Linked DNA regions of Homo sapiens: region 2 is linked to region 1. Evidence: promoter capture Hi-C in human tissues and cell types (Jung and others, 2019). All regions are on one chromosome and are shown on one strand. Each heading gives the region's core, a stretch centred on a gene start or on the middle of the fragment in contact. The rest is flanking DNA. Distances are from core to core; before and after follow the strand shown. Region 1 holds the start of CDH5 (cadherin 5). Region 2 overlaps LOC124903780 (a long non-coding RNA gene).

Region 1 (7,139 bases), core at 3,151-5,650:
ATGACCTGGCCCCTTCTGCTTCCTCCTGGTTTGTGGCTCAGTTTGGCCCTGGGATAGGCTTCTGTGGGTTCCAGACCTGTTCCTCTCCCTGCAGGTTCTGCCAACAGCCTCCCCACTCCCTGCTGGAGGAAGTCTAGCTCCTCAGCCAGCCCTTAAGGCCTAGCATGGTTGTCCCCTGCCCACCCTGCCAGCTCTCCTCTCCTCCACTTCCCTGCCCCTTCCAGCCTCGAGGAGAGCTAGGAGTTCCTGAAATGCACAATGCCCTTCCTCTCAGCAGCAGGCTTTTTGCCCAGGCTGTTCCTTCTGACTGGAATGCTCTTCTTTGCTGTGTTTCCTGGGTTAACGCTTTACTTCTTCTCAAGGCCCACACTGCCTACTCCATGAGGTCTTCTGATTGCCACCTGCCACCAGCACAGCCTCTGCCTCCTGGCCTATCTGCCCAGGCAGGTTCTGGGCCTAAGAGTTCACTTCATGCCATACCTGGGTGCATGAACTCAAGGCCCTAGACCTGGACGTGCTGCCTGTCAGCCTGGTGCCAGCTCCAGTTCTGGTCTTGTCACCCACTCCTTCCCCACTCACAGGATTTAGAAACAAATCTGTATATTTTCAGACAACACGTAGGGTGGTCAGAGTAGGTACAATTGTTGGTATAACTTAAAGAAGCTCCTCCTTGTTCCCAAATAGGTCCTCTGATGGCTCATGGGATAGGCTGCCATGGGACTGCCCAAAAGACCACCGATAGGATTTTGATCCTTTACTGACAACAAAATTATCCTTCTTAAGAGTCCCTGGCCAGGTGTGGTGGCTCACACCTGTAAATCCCAGCACTTTGGGAGGCCGAGACCAGTGGATCACCTGAGGTCAGGAGTTCGCAACCAGCCTGGCCAACATGGTGAAACCCCGTCTCTACTAAAAATACAAAATTAGCTAGGCATGGTAGCACATGCCTGTAATCCTAGCTACTTGGGAGATTGAGGCAGGAGAATCGCTTGAATCTGGGAGGTGGAGGTTGCAGTGAGCCAAGATTGCGCCATTGCACTCCAGCCTGGACAACAAGAGCAAAACTCTGTCTCAAAAACAAACAAACAAACAAACAAACAAACAAACAAAAAAGTCTCCAGTGAATATGCAAACACCCCTGAGCAGGGCACCTCTTAAGACAGGGCTGGCAAAACAGAACTCAGCTTGCCACATGCCCCTTTCCACACCTATGGCAGACATCACGAATCAATCACTCAAAGACTGTATTGAGGATCCTCATAGACTGTATTGAGGATTCAGGGGCTGAGTTCAAGTTCATTCCCACTGAATGAAGGTAGAGGGTACCAACTGGCCAGACCTATTTTGTGATGTGAAACAAATTTGTGCTGGAATCTCTGGGCTCCGGGTCATCTAGTCTATCCCCTTGCCTTCTAAAGGGACAGCTCCAAACTTCAAGGAGAGAACACCCATGCTAAGGAGGCTTCCAGACTCCTCTGGGCTTCCTGACTTTGTCTGGGACTGTCAGGGCAGTGCGGGGAACAGAATGAGGCCCTTGCACCTGCCTATTTGAACCTGCCCAGCTGCTCGGGAGCTGTGTGACCTTGGGTTCATCTCTTGCTTGCTGAGCCTCAGCTTCCTTATCTGTAATGGAGGCAACAATAGCTGCCTCCCTGGGCAGGAGGATTAAATGAGATCATGGGTGCAAAGCCTGGCACACAGTAGGTGCTCAGTAAGGGTGCAGGTGTCTTGACTCCTATCTACCCGCCCTCTCCAGCCTGGTGGGTGTGGCTTTGACTGGCCAACTTACGCTTGACCTCATTTCCTGGCTCTACTCTGGGCCCACCTCCTACTCTTTCTGTTCCTCTGCAGAAGGAAATCTCATTCACCACCAGCCCGGCCTGCCCCTGGGTCCCACTTCCTCCTCCTTCTAGTATCTGGACCTGCCAGGATCTGACTGTTTTGCTATGGTCCAAGGCAGACAACCTGGAAATCCCTGAATTAGTTTAGGGACCATCCCCTACTCTCAAGAGATGGGAAGACTGAGGTGCAGGCTGCAGAGGGGCTGCCCAAGGCCTCCTAGCATCTGGGATTCCCACTCTTCCTCCAGCAAGCCCTCCATGATTTACCCACTTAACACCAGCTTGAACCTGGATCAGGACAGACTTTTTAGTATCTCCTCAGCCAGAGGTGAAGCTCCTGAGGCCCTGCCTCCTAGAACATTCCTTCCCCTGGTATCACTGGGCTCCTGGCTTGTCCCTGTGCCTGCCTCTGTGGCCTGGACTGCTCTGCTTTCCCCCTCTCTGAGCTTCACTGTGGAGTGTGGCATGGACTGTGGGTCAGAAGGAACCGCACTCACCCTGCTTCTACCTTGTGTTGGTTGTGTGACCTTGGACTGGCTGCACAGCTTCCCTCAGCCTCGATGGTCCCATCTGTCAAATGGGAATTCTCATAGTTGCTTCAGTGTGACTGAGGGGGTGCAGAGAGAGGATACAGGGAACAGTCATGGGTCCATGTGGGCAAAATGAGCCTAAGATTCTTCCTGGGATGGTGTCCCCTCTGTCCCCTGGGTGTCCCCAAGTCAGCAGTGAATCATCCAACTTTGCAGAAAATGTGTGGCCCCTGCTGGCTTCCTGCCCTCATGTCCGGCCCTTGTTTGGCAACACAATAGCTCAGGCTGAGGCTGCAGGCGGGCAGCTTAACCCCTTCCAGGCCAGTATACACCTCCCCTACCCCTCACCACCATAAGCTGAAATTGGTAGGGCTGCTCAGGGGCTCAGCAGCTCTTGGGCCCCTTGGTGGATACCTGCTGCTCTCTAGGGCAGGCAGAGGAGAGTCCCAGGCTTCCCACCACCTGAGGATGGACCAGGGCTTCTGGCCCTGGCTCCAGTGGCCTGTGGCAAAAGAGCCTTCCAGGTACACCCTCGACTCCTCAAAGCTGCCTCCCTGGGAATGCCCTTCCTCTCTTGTCAGAATCCTATCTGCCCATCACACATGAGAAACGTCCACGCTGGGGAGGGAGCCTGACATGGAGCAGAGGCCCAGAGGTGCTCGCGATGTCCTCTCACTTGCACCCCCTTCCTCGTACCTGCTGGGCACCTGAGGACCCCTCCGTGATGGGGTTTGACCATACCTCAAGGGCCAAAATCTTTATCACATTCACAACCAGGATCGGCTCTGTGCTAGCTGGTAAATCCAGCCACTATTCCTTAAAGATCTCATGTTATGTGCCATTCCCAGCACCAGGGATGTAGCTCACTTCACTCAATTGACTGAGGAAACACTGTTTCCCCATTTCACAGATGAGACACTTGAGACCTGGGGAGAGCTGGGGCTTTGGAGTACGAGATCCTGGTTCAAATCCCCACACCAGCTCATATGTTTCCAAAGCTCAGTTGCTTTCACTGAGATATAAAGAAAGAATGTATCTACCTTGTGGAGTTGTTAATGGTAAAATAATGAGCCCCACACCATCCCTTGTTCCCCACTGTGGTTTGGAAACTCTGGGTAACTTTCCCAAGGTCACCCCAGAGCAAATGGGAGAGCTGGGATCTGTACCCAGGGCAGCTGTCTCCAGGCCAGGCTCTTGGCCCAGACCTCCTGCTTCTGGGGGACTTCCTGGGCTGTGGGGGCCTTGGGGCTCTTATGCTCTAGCCTTTGAAAGGGTGCTGGTGGGAGGAATGGTGGACCGCTGTCCAGACTACAGCTCCCTTGACACATAGTGGGCCCCGATGGTGTTTGGGCAGGGAAAGGCCCAGAGGGAAAGGCAAGACCTCAAGTGCCCAGAGCCAAGCCTCAGCTTGCCTATCCTGAAATGGGGGCACTGGCTGACCGAGAGGGGCCAAGGCTCGGAGCTTCCTTTTCAGGGCCCCTCCCCAGATCCCAGCATAGAGCTTTAGTGGCGTATGGGTAGGGGGCTGAGGAGGCTGGTGTCAGGCCTTGGTAAATCCTCTCCAGTAAGGGTAAGGCACCGAGGGGAGGCCAAGGCCTGGGTGCCAGTCCTCTGCCCCGGCATGCTGGGCAACTGGGGCAGAATACTGCCCTCTCTGAGCCTGGCACTGATGAAGGCCAGTGGGCCTTTTTGAGTTGGAGAATACACTTCTGGGAGAGCCAAGCCCTTGCCCTGCCCCCCTCAGCCCCGAGATGCCCATTTGTGCCCTTGGCACTACCTCTGGGTGCACCTTCCCCGACCCTGCTCTGAGCCACGAGGAGGCCCAGCGTGCCCTCGAGGAGCCTCTCTGTCATGGGAGTGGGACGATGCCCATTCTACAGATGGGGAAGCTGAGGACCCTCCCATCTTGGGCGCAGGGTGGCGGGTTTGGGGTGGAGGGGAGTGTGGGAGCCCCCACTCACCGTGCCTGTGGGCTGAGGGATGTTTCTGTTCCGTTGGACTGCCTGTCCGTCCAGGGCTGAGCGTGAGTGGAGCTCTGTGGAGCCTGTCAGCCGACCGTCTTTGGAGGGGAGCCACACCCCGCTGGCGAGGGAGGCCTGGCTGCCTCCCCTTCAGGTTTTCCAGCTGGCCCTGGCCCACTTCCCCCTGGGATGGTTTCCTGTTATTGTTCCTTTGTGAGGGCTGGGCTGGCTGCAGATAGGCAGGCCCTGCGGTGGGCGGCTGCCTCGGCCCCGGATGGCTGTCTCCACAGAGGGCTGGCACTGGACCCTGCCTGGGGCACCCCACTTGAACCCCTACTCCCGGCCTCAGCTCTGGGACTCTGAACCCAGCACCTGCAAAGAGCCTGGCTGTGGGGACCCTTGGCTGCAGCATCACATTTAACCCTCCTTGGAATGCTACAGGCAGGTGTCATCACCCCCATTTTATAGCCCGGGAAGCTGAGGCTCAGCGGGTTTAAGGTGCTTGTCCACCCAGCTGGGGTATAAAAGAGCCAAAAATCTAGCTGGGGTCAGCCTAGCCCCAGAGCTTGATTTTCTGTGGTGATCCCATGATGTCTTTGTGGGAATGGACTTTAAAGGTGACAGGGAGGCTTCAGGAGATGGGAAAGGGACAGAAGCTCTTGGCTCTGGAGGACCAGGTTGGCTTCTCCTGGTCAGAGCGGGCATGGACTCCAGCTCTAAGGTGCCAGCCTCGGTCTGTAGGGGATGTTTGCATTTAGGGATATTGGGTGGAGTCAAGTGACCCAGCTCTGCTTCTGATGTGACCTCTGGCCAGTTGTGTCATCCTGGAGCCACAGTTTCCTCATCTGTAAAATGGGGATAATCACAGCCTCATCCTCACAAGGCTTTTGACATAAACGAGAATCAAAGAGGGGCGTGGAAGACAGTGACGCTGAGGCTGGATCAGAGCCCAGAAGAACCAAGAGGCTGGGGGGAAGGGAGGGGCCAAGATTCTGCTGACCAGGAGAGACATAGGAGGAGCTTCTAAAAACTACAGAGGACTGGGCTCACCCCAGATCAACTGATTTGGAATCTCCCAGGGCAGATCCTGGGAATCTGTCCTTTGAAGAGTTGCTTCTGTTTTTCCATGGGTGAATGGTTGGGAAGTCCCAAACTTGTTTTATTATATAGCTGGGCAAGCAGAGACCCTGAGAAAGAGAGGGCCCAGGGCCGTTTAGTAAATCAGAGCACAAGATGGGGAGTGTGATGGAAGGATATTTTTGGAGGAGGAGGGGATAGTGATTCCTCTGTCTCAGGCAGGTTGAGTTTGAGATGCTCGTTAGATACCCAGGTGGAGGTGTCAGGCTGGTGGGGGAGACAGGGGTGAGTCCAGCCTGGAGTCGAGGTTTGGAACCCAACAGCTTATGGCTGGCATCTGAGGCCATGGGCATGGATGAGCTTGGAGGGAGGGAGGACTTGGACCCTCTGACATTTGGGGATCCATTAGAAGAGGGTCCCATGATGAAGGAGGAATGCCAGGAGAGGGCAGAGGAGGAGGGCAGGGGAGTAGTCAGTGGGTCAGCCTGGGGAGCATGAGGGCTGAGACTTAACTTTGGATTTGGAAGATGAGGTCATCAATGACTGTGACCAGAACAGGTTAAACAGGAAAAGGTAGACAAGACAGATTGGAGGGGCTAGAGAAAGGGGAGAAAGGGGGACGGGGATGTGGAGTCACGTGTGACTGTAGCTTCTTCCCCAAGTCTTACAGTGAATGGGAGCAGAGAAGTGGGAGGGTTTTTTTTTTTTTTTTTTTTTTTTTTTTTTAACTATGGCAGCACGCTCATGTCCCCAGGGAGCATCCAGCAGACGGGAAGACAGATGATGCTGGAGACTGAGGAGCGACCTGCTGGAAGGAGAACAGTCCTTGGGGCGGAATTCTGAGTGGGATCCAACACATTCAACAGCCGATTGTGGAATGAACAAACAACAGCTCAGCGCTTCCTTCTCCAATGGGATTAACTCTGCTTTCTCCTGCCCAGAGGGGGGGTTGGCCGCAGAGGAGCCAGGACAGTGCTCTGTCCCCTGTGTTCCAGTCCACATCCCCCTCACCCCCGCCTGTCCTCATGGTCTACGTGCCCATGGGGATACACTGGCCTGTGCATTGCTTCCTGCTGGGTCTCAGACTCGGGGCTGTGGCAGATGGGGACAGGGCCTGTCCTGGCACCATCTGCCAATTCCCTTTGTACTCCCAGTCCATGAGGAAGTTGACTCTGCCCTGAAAACGACTGTTCCTGTGGTCCATAAACAAAGGAATGGTGAGCCAGGCATGAGCTGTGGGCCCCAGGGGTGGGGCTGGGGGTCACCGTAGCAGAGGTAGCTGAGACTGTGGGAGGGAGGCTGGTGCCTCCTTGGTCCCCCTGAGGATTTCATGCCTGATTTCTGGCACTGCCCAGCCTCTGCTCCAACCTCTCTGGAGGCAAAGGAGGTAACAGGAGGGCACAAGGCCAGGAAGTGTCATTGGGAGCAAGGAAGGCGGCTGGTGGGCTAGCAGGAAATGGGATGGTCTGTGAGACCAGATTAGTAGCAGAGGAGGAAGCAACAGTGGAGGCAGTGGGGGTGGGATGGCGGGTGGGACGACAAGGCCTGGGGACGCCCACCTGGCCTCTGCCAGGAGGAAGCCTGACCCGACAGGGAGCGCTGCTTGGGGAGGTACAGGTGTGGGGGTTGCAGACCCAGGTTTGGATCCTAGCATGACCCGTTGCTGCCTGCATGACCTGGGCAGCCGACTTGCCTCTCTGAGCTTCTTTCCTCACCTGTGAAATGAGTTA
Region 2 (7,139 bases), core at 1,725-4,224, 1.1 Mb after region 1:
GAGACTTAGGCATTTGTATTCTCTTTTGAGTAGCCAGTTCAGCAGAGCGTGCCTGCTTCTGATTAACCTAAGGAGGACGGCCGGGAGACCTGACTCCTTGCCTGGACTGGGCGGTCTCAGGAATCTGGGCCTCTGTGCACTGTCTGGGACTCATTGTTCTGGGGAGAGAATGGGCAGAGGCATCCTGCGAGTCCTCCCTGGCACTTGCAGACAGCAGGCTTTTGTACCTATTCCTGCTCTAAGGGGGGTGTAACACGTGGTTGGCTGGAAATCTGGTGTGAATAAATTCTGATGTACATATTCATACTTTGTACTGATACTATGCAGACTATTAAGTCATTTACAGCTATGGTTACCAAGAGTTTCTGATGATAATACATCTGTAATAGTGTATTTTTAAAAAGCAAGATATAAAGTTATACTCATTCATAAACAAACAGATATCAACTATGTATAAAAGAAAATCATGCAAAAAGAAAGAAAAAACTGGAAATAAATGGATCACTGTGCTGAAAGGTAACTCTCTGGATTATTGTTTCCTTATGAACTTTGGCATTTCTAGGTGGTGTAGAGGACGGCCTTAACCTTGGGGTTGAATCCTGGTTCTGATCTTCACAGGGTTTGGGATTTGGGGTAAGATGCTTACCTTCCTAACTCTGATTTTCCTCCTGTGTGAAATACAGTGATATTGTCACCAAAGTAGGAATGTTGTGAGGATTAAAATAGATATCTCTTTTTCCTATAATGTGTTTACTCTGGGCCAGACCATGTATTAACCATGAGCTACCAGGTATTAAGTGTCAAACTCCTTAGTTAAGAAACATGGAGATGGAAACTTGCCCAGAGTGATTAATTAAGAAAATAAAATCAATATTTGATAGCAGAGTAGGGTGACTATAGTTAAGACAAATGCAGTGTGCACTGGTGATGAACACCCTAAGTTCCCTGACTTGTTACTATGCATTATATACATATAAGAAAATTTCACATATACTCCATTAATTTGTGCAAATAAAAATAACTTTTTTTAAAAAAGAAAAGAACAGTCATCGTAATAGTAGCTAACATCCCCTGGACACTTTCTAAGCAGCTTCCATGGACTATACCTTTGAAGTCACAGAAAAACACTATGGCATACATCTGTCTAATGTTATTTTCTAGAGATCACTAAAGCTTAGGAAATTAATGGGACTTTCCAAGGCTCACACCATTTGTGAGTGGCAGAGCTGGGATTTGATCCCAGGGAGAATATGTTCAAAGATTGGTCTCTAAGTTTTCATAAAAGGAAGGGGAACAATACCAAGGAAAGGCAAGAACTGCGCAAAACAGCATGGGAGTTGAAGGCAGAAATAAATAAATTCCCTTTGGGCCAGGAGTCAGCCAACTTTTTCTGTAAAGAGTCAGACAGTGAATATTTTATGCTTTCCAGGTCATTCACTTTCTGTTGCAACTCCTCAACTCTACCATTGTAGTGCAAAAGCAGCCATGTATGCCAATGAATGAGTGTGGGTGTGTTCAAATAAACCTTTATTTACAAAAATGGGTGGAGTTGACTGATGGGATATTGTTTGCCAACTCCTGCATAAGACCCTTATCAGAATTTGAGATTGGGAGTGGCTTTGAAAGAGGATATTGCTGAAAATCCTCATTTCAGATTAACTGAGGTTCCTAGAATCCAGGGATTGGATTCCCAGAACTAGTACTTTGTTTATCCATTGATTAACTGGCCTAGTATCACACAGTTGACAAAAGGCAGATTCTGGACCTGAATCCACATCAGTTTAACTATGGAACCCAGCTAAATTCTGCAACTCTGTTAATACAACTGATCGAAATGAATGCCTGGATGGGCTCTTCTCCAGCATGTTCCACTGTTGGACAGAGTTAACAATGGTGAACAACACTCTCTTGCATTTCCTACTGACGTGTGACCTTGAACAAGAGACCAGCTTCTCTGAGAGTCAGCCTTATGCTGCCTTTACCAGATATGTCAGCAAGATCAGGGACTTCACATCCAGATAGATTTTGTTCTGACCATAGACTTTGGGATCTATAGTGGTGAGATCTTAGGCAACTGTAAGACTCTCTCAGAAATAAGGACTGTTGCTTCCTACTCATATCTTTCTAAGAAAACTCCACCACTATCCCTGCCACCACAACCTGCACATGTTGCAAACCAAGGCATCCACGTGAATCACTTTGCAAGCTCATACCCTCATCGTAGTTTATTGGACCTGACCCAAGGCAAACTGGTGTCAGGCCTTTGAGCCCAAGCCAAGCCGTCGCATCCCCTGTGACTTGCACATATACGCCCAGATGGCCTGAAGTATACATTTTATTACCCAATCTGCTCCCGACATTAAATAAAACTCCAAAAATTGGAATCTGGCCCTCAAACCCCACAACAGGACTTAATTAACCTCACCTTCAAGGTGTACAATAACAGAAAAAAGTTACAATTCCTTGCCTCCACTGTGAGACAAACCCCAGCCACATCTCCAGCACACAAGAACTTCCAAACGCCTGAACCGCAGCGGCCAGGCGTTCCTCCAGAACCTCCTTCCCCAGGAGCTTGCTACACGTGCCCGAAATGTGGCCACTGGGCCAAGGAATGCCCGCAGCCCGGGATTCCTCCTAAGCCGCGTCCCATCTGTGTGGGACCCCAATGAAAATTGGACTGTTCAACTCACCTGGCAGCCACTCCCAGAGCCCCTGGAACTCTGGCCCAAGGCTCTCTGACTCCTTCCCAGATCTTCTCGGCTTAGCGGCTGAAGACTGACACTGCCCGATCGCCTCGGAAGCCCCCTAGACCATCACGAACGCCGAGCTTCCGGTAACTCTCACAGTGGAAGGTAAGCCCGTCCCCTTCTTAATCAATACGGAGGCTACCCACTCCACATTACCTTCTTTTCAAGGGCCTGTTTCCCTTGCCTCCATAACTGTTGTGGGTATTGACGGCCAGGCTTCTAAACCTCTTAAAACTCCCCAACTTTAGTGCCAACTTAGACAATACTCCTTTAAGCACTCCTTTTTAGTTATCCCCACCTGCCCAGTTCCCTTATTAGGCTGAGACACTTTAACTAAATTATCTGCTTCCCTGACTATTCCTGGACTACAGCCACATCTCATTGCCACCCTTCTCCCCAACCGAAAGCCTCCTTCGCGTCTTCCTCTCATATCCCCCTACCTTAACCCACAAGTATGGGACATCTCTACTCCTTCCCTGGCAACCGATCACATGCCCATTACATCCCATTAAAACCTAATCACCCTTACCCCACCCAATGCCAATATCCCATCCCGCAGCACACTTTAAAAGGATTAAAGCCTGTTATCACTCGCCTGCTACAGCATGGGCTTCTAAAACCTATAAACTCTCCCTACCATTCCCCCATTTTACCTGTCCTAAAACCAGACAAGCCTTACAAGTTAGTTCAGAATCTGTGCCTTATCAACCAAATTGTTTTGCCTATCCACCCCGTGGTGCCAAACCCGTATCCTCTCCTATCCTGAATACCTCCCTCTACTACCCATTATTCTGTTCTGGATCTCAAACATGCTTTCTTTACTATTCCTTTGCACCCTTCATCCCAGCCTCTCTTTGCCTTCACTTAGACTGACCCTGACACCCATTAGGCTCAGCAAATTACCTGGGCTGTACTGCCGCAAGGCTTCACAGACAGCCCCCATTACTTCAGTCAAGCCCAAATTTCATCCTCATCTGTTACCTATCTCGGCATAATTCTCATAAAAACACACGTGCTCTCCCTGCTGATCGTGTCTGATTAATCTCCCAAACCTCAATCCCTTATAAAAGAACAACTCCTTTCCTTCCTAGGCATGGTTAGTGTGGTCAGAATTCTTACACGAGAGCCAGGACCACACCCTGTAGCCTTTCTGTCCAAACAACTTGACCTTACTGTTTTAGCCTAGCCCTCATGTCTGCGTGCAGCGGCTGCCACTGCTTTAATACTGTTAGAGGCCCTAAAAATCACAAACTATGCTCAACTCACTCTCTACAGTTCTCATAACTTCCAAAATCTATTTTCTTCCTCATACCTGATGCATATACTTTCTGCTCCCCGGCTCCTTCAGCTGTACTCACTCTTTAAGTCCCACAATTACCATTGTTCCTGACCAGGACTTCAGTCCAGCCTCCCACATTATTCCTAATACCACACGTGACCCCCATGACTGTATCTCTCTGATCCACCTGATATTCACCCCATTTCCCCATATTTCATTCTTTCCTGCTCCTCACCCTGATCACGCTTGATTTATTGGTGGCAGTTCCACCAGGCCTAATCGCCACACACCAGCAAAGGCAGGTTATGCTATAGTACAAGCCACTAGCCCGCCTCTTAGGACCTCTCATTTCCTTTCCATGGTGGAAATCTATCCTCAAGGAAATAACTTCTCAGTGTTCCATCTGCTATTCTCAGGGATTATTCAGGACCCCTCCCTTCCCTACACATCAAGCTCAAGGATTTGCCCCCACCCAGGACTGGCAAATTAGCTTTACTCAACATGTCCCGAGTCAGGAAACTAAACTATTAGACCTCTTAGTCTAAATAGACACTTTCACTGAATAAGTAAAGGCCTTTCCTACAGGGTCTGAGAAGGCCACCACAGTCATTTCTTCCCTTCTGTCAAACATAATTCCTCAGTTTAGCCTTCCCACCTCTATACAGTCTGATAACAGACCAGCCTTTATTGGTCAAATCAGCCAAGCAGTTTTTCAGGCTCTTAGTATTCAGTGAAACCTTTATATCCCTTACAGTCTTCCATCTTCAAGAAAAGTAGAGTGGACTAAAGGTCTTTTAAAAACAGACCTCACCAAGCTCAGCCACCAACTTAAAAAGGACTGGACAATACTTTTACCACTTTTGCTTCTCAGAATTCAGGCCTGTCCTCAGAATGCTACAAGGTGTACAGGAGCCCATTTAAGCTCCTGTATAGACGCTCCTTTTTATTAGGCCCCAGTCTCATTCGACACCAGAGCAACTTAGACTGTGCCCCCAAAAAAACTTGTCATCCCTACTATCTTTTGTCTAGTCATACTCCTATTCATCGTTCTCAACTACTCATACGTGCCCTGCTCTTGTTTACACTGCCGGTTTACACTGTTTCTCCAAGCCATCACAGCTGATATCTCCTGGTGCTATCCCCAAACTGCCACTCTAAACTCTTGAAGTAAATAAATAATCTTTGCTGGCAGGACTATGCTGAATCTCCTGAGGCACTCTCTAATCAGATGTCCTGGGTCCTCCCAATTCTTAGACCTTTTATACCTGTTTTTCTCCTTCTCTTATTCCATTTCGTTTTTCAATTCATACAAAACCGTATCCAGGCCATCACCAATCATTCTATATGACAAATGTTTCTTCTAACAACCCCACAGTATCACCCCTTACCACAAGACCTCCCTTCAGCTTAATCTCTCCCACTCTAGGTTCCCACGCCACCCCTAATCCCGCTTGAAGCAGCCCTGAGAAACATCGCCCATTCTCTCTCCATACCACCCCCAAAAATTTTCGCCGCCCCAACACTTCAACACTATTTTGTTTTATTTTTCTTATTAATATAAGAAGGCAGGAATGTCAGGCCTCTGAGCCCAAGCCAAGCCATCGCATCCCCTGTGACTTGCAGGTATATGCCCAGACGGGCTGAAGTAACTGAAGAATCACAAAAGAAGTGAAAAGGCCCTGCCCCGCCTTAACTGATGACATTCCACCATTATGATTTGTTCCTGCCCCACCTTAACTGAGTGATTAACCCTGTGAATTTCCTACTCCTGGCTCAGAAGCTCCCCCACTGAGCACCTTGTGACCCCCGCCCCTGCCCACCAGAGAACAACCCCCTTTGACTGTAATTTTCCATTACCTTCCCAAATCCTATAAAACGGCCCCACCCCTATCTCCCTTTGCTGACTCTCCTTTCGGACTCAGCCCGCCTGCACCCAGGTGAAATAAACAGCCATGTTGCTCACACAAAGCCTGTTTGGTGGTCTCTTCACACGGACACACATGAAAACTGGTCCACTGGCTGAACTAAACCAATAAGATTCTTCTGAAAAATAATTTGCAGAAGGAGGCATCTCAAGAGTTGTGGTAGTTGAGTCTTACTGATGGGGGATAGACATGTAAACATCCAGCAACTCTTGATGCTGAAGTCTCTGAAGCCTCACTGGCTCTTGTCCGTGGTAAGGACTTCTGTAGTTCAGCTACTCTCCAGTTTTGAGTCTTTTGAATTTTGGATCAGTTTGGTCATTGTCCTACTTTTTAGGGGCAAATTTGTCTTAAGACACCCATCTGCAATACAAAAATAATGGATAGGTGTTTCATAAAGTTTGTCCTGAGAATAGAGATAATGTAAAGGAGCCAAAAGGATAGATCTGGCAAGCAAAGGGCATGAAAAACATGTTTGTTCCATTCTTGCCATTTACTTTCTGAAACGATGATTCAGGAAAGGAAGTATGATAGCTATACTGGAACCACAGACCCGTGCACACTTATGAGTAGGAAGACACTGTAAAAGCTATCCTGAGCAAACAGTGACTCCACCAGAAAGCCTCCTGGCAGCCTTACTGACAGACACCCTCTCCGTTCATACTTGAACAACTCCAAAAGGAAAGAGCTCATCCCCAGCATAGTGTCTGACTCCAGTGTTACATGGCTCTGATTATGCAGACCCTCTTATTTGTAATGCACTGAACATGTGGACCTTCTTATTTGTAATGCAATACACATGGCCCCCTTGGAATTTTCATCACTGGTCCTCGGATTGCATTTTTGAAGCCATAGAGAATGAAGTACTGGAAGTTCTAAGAGGCAATATGCAAAATATAGAAATAGGCCATGTGTTGGGATAGTGAAACCATGAGGAATTGTGTTACCTATTTACAGATACTTTCAAACATGGCCAAAGTTTTTCTTAAAATTTTTAATGATGGACATACCTTAAGATTGAAGCATTTGAAGAGAAGGGATTTTGCCCCTCATTCTTCTTAAGTTATTTGTTATCCAGTCAAAACATCTCCAAGTCCTTCCATTGCCTCTCATGAGGTATAATTTCCTTCTCTGTATTTCATCCAGCTTATCAACATCTCATGAAAACATGGAACTCAGAATAAACACAAT

The links. Contacts are between HindIII fragments. The study calls those that stand out against the background at their distance.
Region 2: a fragment that was not itself captured here is called in contact with the fragment with the promoter of CDH5 in region 1 in 1 of the 25 tissues and cell types used here (dorsolateral prefrontal cortex).

The regions. Positions count from the first base shown.
Region 1 is chr16:66,363,952-66,371,090 of GRCh38, reverse strand. CDH5 (cadherin 5) reads right to left here and starts at 4,400. Exons shown (of 12, transcript NM_001795.5): 1 at 4,333-4,400. LOC105371318 (a long non-coding RNA gene) reads left to right here. Exons shown (of 3, transcript XR_933687.3): 3 at 6,164-6,911. RefSeq lists enhancers at 1-97, 2,441-3,147, 3,958-4,507 and a silencer at 1,834-1,913. The HindIII fragment of the contact is 33,771 bases long and covers 1-7,139 here.
Region 2 is chr16:65,274,149-65,281,287 of GRCh38, reverse strand. The region is part of intron 2 of LOC124903780 (a long non-coding RNA gene); the gene reads right to left. Among named protein-coding and RNA genes, the nearest start is that of LINC02126, 100 kb to the right of the region's middle. The HindIII fragment of the contact is 4,843 bases long and covers 553-5,395 here.